Linked DNA regions of Homo sapiens: all the other regions are linked to region 2. Evidence: promoter capture Hi-C in 16 types of primary human blood cells and fetal thymus (Javierre and others, 2016). All regions are on one chromosome and are shown on one strand. The core of a region is centred on a gene start or on the middle of the fragment in contact, and the rest is flanking DNA. Distances in the headings are between cores, read along the strand shown.

Region 1 (2,700 bases), core at 22-2,521, 1.4 Mb after region 2:
AATATATTTATCAAAAAAATCTGTATTTCATTTTCAGATAGACTCTGAAGAAAACGTGGTAAAAAAATGCAGTGAGAGTGGTTGCAGATGCTCTGTTCTGGTAAAGAGAAAGAAAGAGCAAAGTAGAGGAGAAAGAAAATAAAGTAAGGAAGGTAGTTCTGCCTCTTTTGACTTTGGACAGTGGCAGGACAGAGCTCGAGTGGGCTGGGAAGGGAGGTGACAGAGGAAGCAACTTAGCAAGACCATAGGTGAAGTAGATTAGTGACAAAGTCCACGAAGCTTAGCAGGGGCTAGACAGAGGAGACAGAGAGTTCCATGAGGCAAGGGGTCATGATCAAGGGGTTGTATATTGAGATTCATAATTGCGGATCAAAAGTTCCGGGACCTGAGTCAAAGAGGTCAGGATGTAGGAAAGAGAGCGCAAATTGGCTGTCAAGCCCTACGGCATTTCTGGTCTGGAAGGGAGGTGGGATACTCCTGAGAAAGTGGGCACTTGGCCAAGGTTGGGAAGCTGGCTGGAGCAGAGGGACTTCACATTGGCATTGCCTGCTTCTAGTGTTTTCACTCCATTTACCAGGCTGCCTCTCAACAAGACCCGAGCATATCCGCATATCCTTTTACTGGATATAACCCAAAGAAAATATTTCTCTGGGCCACTTAGGGCTGGTCCTACAGAACAGCTGGGCCTGAGATTGTGGGTGGCCACAGAGCCTAACACATGGCTGGAGAGACAAATGAGATGAGAGTTCAGGTAATTCCCAACATTCTGGATTGTCTCTGCCCCAAGAGGGACCAAAGAGAGCACAGTCGGTGGCTGGCATAATCACAGAAAGGGTGGCAAGTGGAAGCTTAGATGGGTGGCTAAAATCAAGATGGAGCAGGTAGATGAGAATTGGAGTTAGCACCTACTAAGCCAATTGTTAGACAAGATCCTAAGAGCAACTGTTGCTCTTTTATCCCTAGAGATCAAGTTCCATCCTCTAGGCTTTAGAGAATGTTACTTTCATAGGTAGAAAACCACATCTGCTGTTCCAGAAGCCTTTATTCCACATCTGATGATAAGAACAGTAAATCTGAATCTGAGCCAGGGATGCTGGGTCTGGTCCCAATAAAATAAAGGCTGCAGGTTGCCCTTCCTCTGAGACAACTCCCTTTGAGACCCAACACCTTTCTAGGGCAAGGGCGAGAGTTTCGGCAGTAAAGACTTGGAAGTATCTACAGACCTACTTGATAGAGTCATCCTTATGCTGAAGACAGCATACCCTGGGTAATAGAGCCCTGGGCTCCCAGGAAAAGGAGTTACTCACTTAGTGCTCTGCCTCCATCTCTACCTCGTTTATCACTGTGTTCCCTGCAGCTATGGGAAAGTTTGCCAAAGAGAAGGTGCCCAATAACATACGGTGAATTAATAAATAAATTCAACAACATCCAGTTTTCTGTTGCTACCTATTTCCAGTTAAGTGCCCCCTGAACACTATAATTTCTTTCTCTGAAAAACGTAGGAAATTTGACCATAACCCAGAAATTTATGAAGAATGTGTTATACAGCCCATTTGCTTTGAACCTACAGCATGGCACTTCTAACTATAATCCTCAGACCATCTACCTGTGCAGCTGCAGATTCCTAGGTCCTAACCAGTCCTATGCACCAAAATCCTTAGGGAGCGGGAATGAGCACAAGAATCTGAAGCTTTCACAAGCAATGTAGGTGATACCTATGCACACAACTATTTGAGAAACACAGAGACTTACATTTATGAAAAAATACTACGTTCTAGACCCTAAGCTTGAGATTTTATATATTCATTTAATCCTTACAATTACTCTATGAGGCAAGTATTACTTTCCTTATTTTCTAAGTACGGAAACTGATTCAAACAAGGTTACGCAGTCAATAAGCAGCTGAGCCAGGGTCCATTCTGTGATAAATAAAAGATTCTGAGTCTCATTTTCAGTCTTTTAAAAAATTTTTGATAAAAGTGCATGTTTGTAATAAAGAGCTGAGGGGAAATATGGTTGCATTTGGTGGGTACGAAGCTTCTTACAGCCTATCAAATTGAGAGAATTGGGGAGAGAAAGACATGGAGGGGAAGGGAAATAGCAACATGAACAAGCAAATGCAATGTTTTTGCTCTGAAGTGAAATGCTACAGTTGAATTTTGTAGTCTTGATTTAAAATGATTAGCAATGCTGGGCTACTAGTCTATAACATGCTTAGGGCATGACCTTGTACCAATTATCACCACCCCATGTAACAATCATGACCTGCCTACAGATGACCTGGATAGCTGATAAAATCACAGTTGGTCTCAAAAAATTTAATTGTGCCATAAAAAGAGGCATGATTCATTGAAGCTGCCGTGTCAAACTTTAGCTGTGCTTACCCTAGCCAAAATGACTTTTTTTCTCTTCAAGATATGTACTACCGTCAAATATCACCTGTATAAGTACTCCTGGAGCAAAATGACCTTGAGTTTTATTGTGATGTGGTAAAGGTCTCTTGATGTTCCTGAAACAGTTAACTTGCTTCATATAATCAGGAATAGGTAACTTACTTTTTTGTAATCCAGAGGAATAAAGGCCTTAAAAGTACCACTGTCTTATCAAGAAAAATCTCTAGCTAATATAATCTAGTTAAAAAAAAAAAAAAAAGAGCACTAGAGTTACAGTCAAGCATCTTGAAGTATGGCTTTATCACTA
Region 2 (2,700 bases), core at 129-2,628:
GCAGGTGTACTTTTTTTGGATACAGTGGTCTGGGCAGCCCTCTGAGAAGGGACCTGAAATATGCATCGAACATCGAGGAGTTAAAAAAAATCTGGAGGAAATGTTCTGCCAGAGAAATCGGCAAGCACAAAGGCCCGAAGTGGTTCGAGCCTGCGTGCTGTGGTACAAGCCAGAGGTGAACGAGGCGAGGCAGAAGCACGATCATAAATACATGTATGGATGTTCTCCTGGCTTGAGACCACAGTGCTAAGGGAGGTGGGGTTTACAAATCTCTCAGGAGGCCACAAAGGGCAGGATGAAGCCGATTTCCAATGGCGGAGCTACGAGGACGCCTTTCCTCTGCTAGGGCCAGGTTGGACGGTTGCAAGGGATGGACTGCAACCCGCCCTCGGAAGACCAAACTTCGCCCAGGGGCAGGGACTGGCCGGGGAGGGCCTCGGCGGCGCCCGACCCGCGGGCGCTGCACGGGCCGCGGTTACCAGCAGGCGGTGTAGTGAGCGCGCCTGCAGCAGCAGCAACAGCAGCAGCAGCGGTCGCCGCCGCCGCCGCCGCCCGCCAGTCCCAACGAGGAGAAAGGAGGGGACCGGAAGGAGCCGCTGGTGCTGCGGGAAGTGGCAGGAGCGGGAGGCGGGGACCCACCTGGAAGCGCCGCGGCGCCGCTATCGAGCTTCCTGCAGCGGTGGCCACCCGAGCAAGTGCCGTGGCGGGGGCGGAGAGCGGCCACGGCGGCGGCGCCTCCCCAAGTGGCCCGTTGCGTCCGACCCCGCGTGAAAGGTGAGCAAGAGCTCGGGACACGTGGTGAGGGCCAGACACGGGGGAGGGAGAATGAAGGGGGAGGGAATGGGGGTGGGAAACGATCGGCTTGGGACCCGGATTTGGAGCCAAGTACCGGGAGGGGGTGGGCTGGAGGCGACGACTGCGACGGCTGCGACGGCTGCGACGGCGAAGCCCCCACGTGGGGCGGGGGTGCGCGCGCACGTGTGCGCGGGCGAAAGGGGGGGCGGGGAGGGCTTTTGGGAGGGCGTCGGGAGCGCGCTCGCTCAGTAGCGGCCCACGTGACGGGCACGCCGAAAATGTTTCCACGTGACAGGGAGGCTGCCTGGGGCAGCGCACTGCGCTCTGTTTATGTAGTATAATCGTGGTAATCGGAGGTTTTTAAGATTTCTGCTTTTCTGTACAAGGGGAAAGGAGGAGACGTATAAAGCGGAAAGACTTCCTACTGTCTCAGTGTTTTAAATGTTCACTACTCCGTTAGTGAAGTGCTTTTTAAGTTCCGAAATACTGATTTTTTTCTGTACCGCCATGTTGGGTCTAGTGGAAGCTCGCGAGATGCGAGTGGGTTTGTATCGCGAGATCTCTCGATTCTCGCGGGACCTCGTTGGCAGAGCAGTTGTCCTGGATGGCGGAGCCTTGGGTTCCGGGGGCCTGGGACCTGCAACTCTTTCTACAAGGCAAGTCGTTAGGGAGGGGCCCGGGGCGAGTGCCTCTTGGTGCCGGGATACGTGCTGCATCAGCTTCCCATAGTCTTGAAGGGAATACAGTAACCCCATTGAGGCAACACTGCCCTCCCCATCCCCCTGCGGGCGCTCCACCACCTGCAAAAGCATATGCACCCCTCAGCCAGGTCCTTCTCCCCACGCAGTGATAGTTCCACCCTGTCCCACTCACTGGAAGTCCGGGAGCCGTGCTCGCGCAGACCTGATGATTCCATTGGATACCGTTCCTCTTACTTTAAGATGTTCTTGTCAGTTTTTCCCTTCTTGCCATTTTCTAAAGTATTCCAGACCGGTTAACTATTGTGTCGCGTTTTCTGCTGCAGTACCTGACTCCAGTCTCCTGAAACAGAACTCCTCCCATCTATTTTCTCTGGGTGTCATTTACTCATCACCCTGACTTCGTATTTTCAGTAACTTTTGGCAGTATTTGGAGGGCCCATTATGTCTCTGACAACACCTGTGGTCAGAATAAAATCCTGCTTTTCATCATTTTGTACGTGCCTATTAACTCAGTTATCGGTAGGGTTTTAATTACTACTGTGTTACTGAGGTTGCCATCTTTGAAGTTTAGGGATGGTTGTTTTAGGTTATATATTTAAGGTAACAGACTGTTTCATGTGATTTTTTTTTTTTTTTTTTTGAGACGGAGTCTCGCTCTTGTCGCCTAGGCTGGAGTGTAGTGGGGCGATCTCGGCTCATTGCAACCTCCGCCTCCCGGGTTCAAGCGATTCTCCTGCCTCAGCCTCTCGAGTATCGAGTAGCTGGGATTACAGTCGCGCTTCACCACGCCCGGCTAATTTTTGTGTTTTTAGTAGAGACGGGGTTTCACCATGTTGGCCAGGCTGGTCTCAAACTCCTGACCTCAAGTGATCCACCTGCCTTGGCCTCTCAAAGTGCTGGGATTTCAGCACTGTACAGGCGTGAGCCACCGCGCCCGGCCTCAGGTCAACTTTTTAGTAAAGAGCAAACTCATAAATTTTGGCATCAGAGTTTGAGCTTTATTTTTCTTAAATGAGTTTGAAATCAATTTAATATTTCTCTCCAATTCCCTAATGTCTCAGAAGTGAATTTACAGTATACCTTTGTTTTTTCGTATTCTTAAGTAGTATTTGGATTTTATTTAGTAGTTGCAGTACTAAATAAGGAGTGGGGAGTTAATTACAAAACGAATCAGGTGACTAGTTAATTTATTCATAGTTTGTTT
Region 3 (2,700 bases), core at 148-2,647, 1.4 Mb after region 2:
TGCTCATTTCTGGTTTGGGCAATGTTTTATGACAAGCTACAATTAATACAAATCCCAAGAATTATCTTGGAGAGCTCTCAAAATGGTGCTATAAGATTTCCTCAGTGAGGCTGCTAAGTCTTTTGGCCATAAATCTCCCCCAGTAACACGGCTTATTCAATTTAAGGCTGCAAGCCAAAGAGAGATTAATGAGATGAGTTGTCCACCAGTCAAGGAAAGAACACAAGATCTATCCTATCTTATTTCATCTTCTGGTTTAATCATTATAAGTGTTATGTAATGTGACATTCACACATTACTGGAGATGTTCAAGGAACAAATTGCACATCACTAATCAGCAGATCATTTTTCATTTTCTTGCAGAATGTAAAATTAATGATGCCCTCCCTTTTTTTTTATTAAATTCCTAAAAAACAAGTTATATTAAATAACAAATTGAACATAGGAACAATAAGCATTTTTTTCTTTTGCAATTTCAATGCTTTTCTCTACACTAACCAATCCCAGCAGTGTTAGAAAAGAGGCTTAAGGAGCTACTACTTATTTTGTTTCGGTTCGTTAGAACTCCGACAAGCAGCCTGCTCTTTCGGGATCCAAAATGTTCTTTTCCCACTTGATTCTTTCATGTCTGTTATTCCTCTTTAACTTGGTGATTGTAACATACTTGGATGCGATTTCCAATCTGCTAATTGGGTCCTGGGGAGTGTCCCGGCTGGGCTGGGGCAGCGAGGCCACATTGAATTGGCCGGGCCTCATGCTCTCTGCCAGGAGGTGCTCCGGCAGGAATCCCTCTGACAGAGGAGCTGCAGGATGCCCCTTCGGCTGGCGTGGCTGATGGAGGTGGGCACCCTGCCTGCAGGCACTGCAGCCTCAATCAGCCCGCCCCTCCAACGTGCTGGGGATTTTAATTAAGAAACCCTTTCGATATGCCGTTGTAAAATACTGAAGAAGGCTCATCAAAAAGAAGCTTGGATTCTCTGAAATTTAAACATTTAGTAGGCCCCAGGAACCACTTTATTTTCAAGTTATGGCGGTCACTTAGAACATCCATCTCCTCCTTTCCTGCTCAAAACAAGCCGGTTTCATAGGTTATTCTTCTCCATCTCCTTTAGTACCTACTTCCTTAATAATTCAAGTGTTACTTCCTCCTGACATTTCTCAGTTGGACCTTTCAAATTTTAGCTGTGGTTAGATAACACGGTGCTGCTTTGGCTCAACAGCTCGCTCGGTAAATAGGTCAGGACAGGTATGTGTGGATCCCCTCCTCCCCTGTTTTATTCACACACAGCTGTCCACCTCCTGAAAGCTGCCTTCCTTCAGGGACACACAGCAGCTGATCCATCATCTACAGTGAGAAAAGGAGCAGCGACATGTAGGGCCACCCCAGGGATGTTACTGCTAGGAAATCAGTTGCCAAATGCAAATGTCCCAGTATGAGATAAGGGTGGGAGGTAGCTGTGGAATGAGGGAAGAAAATCCATCAAACCTGGATTTAAAACAAAAAAGACCTGGCTTCTGGTCCTGGACATGCTATTCACTGCCTGTGTCACCTCTCTGAGCCTCAGTCTCCTTTGCTGTAAAGATAATATCTGCCTCAATGAGCAGCTGTAGACACGTACCCACATACCCAAAGAGGTGGCATTCGTAGCTGTGGTTAAAAAAATCAAAACAGAAACAATATCAGTATTTACCAGAAAGTAAGATGGCTAAATAAATAATGAGGTATTCATTCCATGGGCATGCAGTCATTGAAAGGAGTGAGGTAGATCTGAATGTTTTATTATGGAACCATCTCCAAGACATATTATGATTTTAAAAAAAGCTTGAAGTAGAAAATTACATATAGTTTGATATCCTTAGTGTTAAAGGATCTACACAGCAATAGTGTACTTTTTAAAATAGTCTTACCTGAGCATAAATGAATAGAAACAAGTGCTGGACACACACAGTGCTAACAGGGGTTAATCCTGTGGAGGGAGCAGGGAACTGGAACCAGATGTGGCTCATGGGGCATTTTTACTTTTATCAGTAATACTTCAATTTCTTACAAAGGAATGCATTTCTTTACTACATGTGTAACTAAAAACTATTTCAAAAGAGAAAGAGTGCTTGTGAGATAATGAGTGTGAAACTACTCTGAAAAACAGAAAATCCTGGGTAGATGTGAACTTTTACTATTCACTCTGCCCAGGTCACACCACATCTATCACAGCCATTTCCACCTCAGGCAAGGCAGGCAAAGCAACTCATTCCCTCCTCCCTCTGTTCCCTTCATGACTAGCTTCAAGAACCCTGTGGAAGGGGGGTTGGGCTTCCACTGGTTCCCTCCCTGTGCACATAACCAAGCAGTGAATGTGATGGCCTTAAGGCGGAGCCTACATCAGGCCCTAGGTAAAAAGCCTGTTGATTAAACCCTCTATTGGTTACGGGCCTCCAAGTACAACATGTAAACCTCTTTTGGGATTCCTTCTATCAATGCTTCATCAGGTCCAACTTAATGGGGTTGGTGCAACCCAGGGGTTTCTGGACCACTTTTTTCCTCTCCACTCATCCCTCTTACCCCTCAGCCCCACAAGAAGCCTCACTAAGCAAATGTTTTCCTAATGAAACCATTCCTGAATTTAAACTTTTTGCCCCCTTGAGGGTGCTATCACCCCTGCTGGGAACCCATGATGTAAGCTAACTATTCCATACTATGTG

The links. The method cuts DNA at HindIII sites, captures the fragments that hold promoters and counts their contacts. A CHiCAGO score of 5 or more calls a contact.
Region 1: a fragment that was not itself captured here is called in contact with the fragment with the promoter of ZZZ3 in region 2 in 1 of 17 cell types (non-activated CD4 T cells); the score reaches 5.8 in non-activated CD4 T cells.
Region 3: a contact is called between a fragment that was not itself captured here and the fragment with the promoter of ZZZ3 in region 2, in 1 of 17 cell types (total CD4 T cells). The highest score is 5.7, in total CD4 T cells.

The regions. Positions count from the first base shown.
Region 1 is chr1:76,264,853-76,267,552 of GRCh38, reverse strand. The region is part of intron 1 of ST6GALNAC3 (ST6 N-acetylgalactosaminide alpha-2,6-sialyltransferase 3); the gene reads right to left. Among named protein-coding and RNA genes, the nearest start is that of ST6GALNAC3, 190 kb to the right of the region's middle. The HindIII fragment of the contact is 842 bases long and covers 851-1,692 here.
Region 2 is chr1:77,681,336-77,684,035 of GRCh38, reverse strand. ZZZ3 (zinc finger ZZ-type containing 3) reads left to right here and starts at 1,378. Exons shown (of 15, transcript NM_015534.6): 1 at 1,378-1,451. RefSeq lists enhancers at 123-222, 1-425, 1,243-1,322 and silencers at 373-432, 443-862. The HindIII fragment of the contact is 10,120 bases long and covers 1-2,700 here.
Region 3 is chr1:76,289,453-76,292,152 of GRCh38, reverse strand. The region is part of intron 1 of ST6GALNAC3 (ST6 N-acetylgalactosaminide alpha-2,6-sialyltransferase 3); the gene reads right to left. Among named protein-coding and RNA genes, the nearest start is that of ST6GALNAC3, 220 kb to the right of the region's middle. The HindIII fragment of the contact is 855 bases long and covers 970-1,824 here.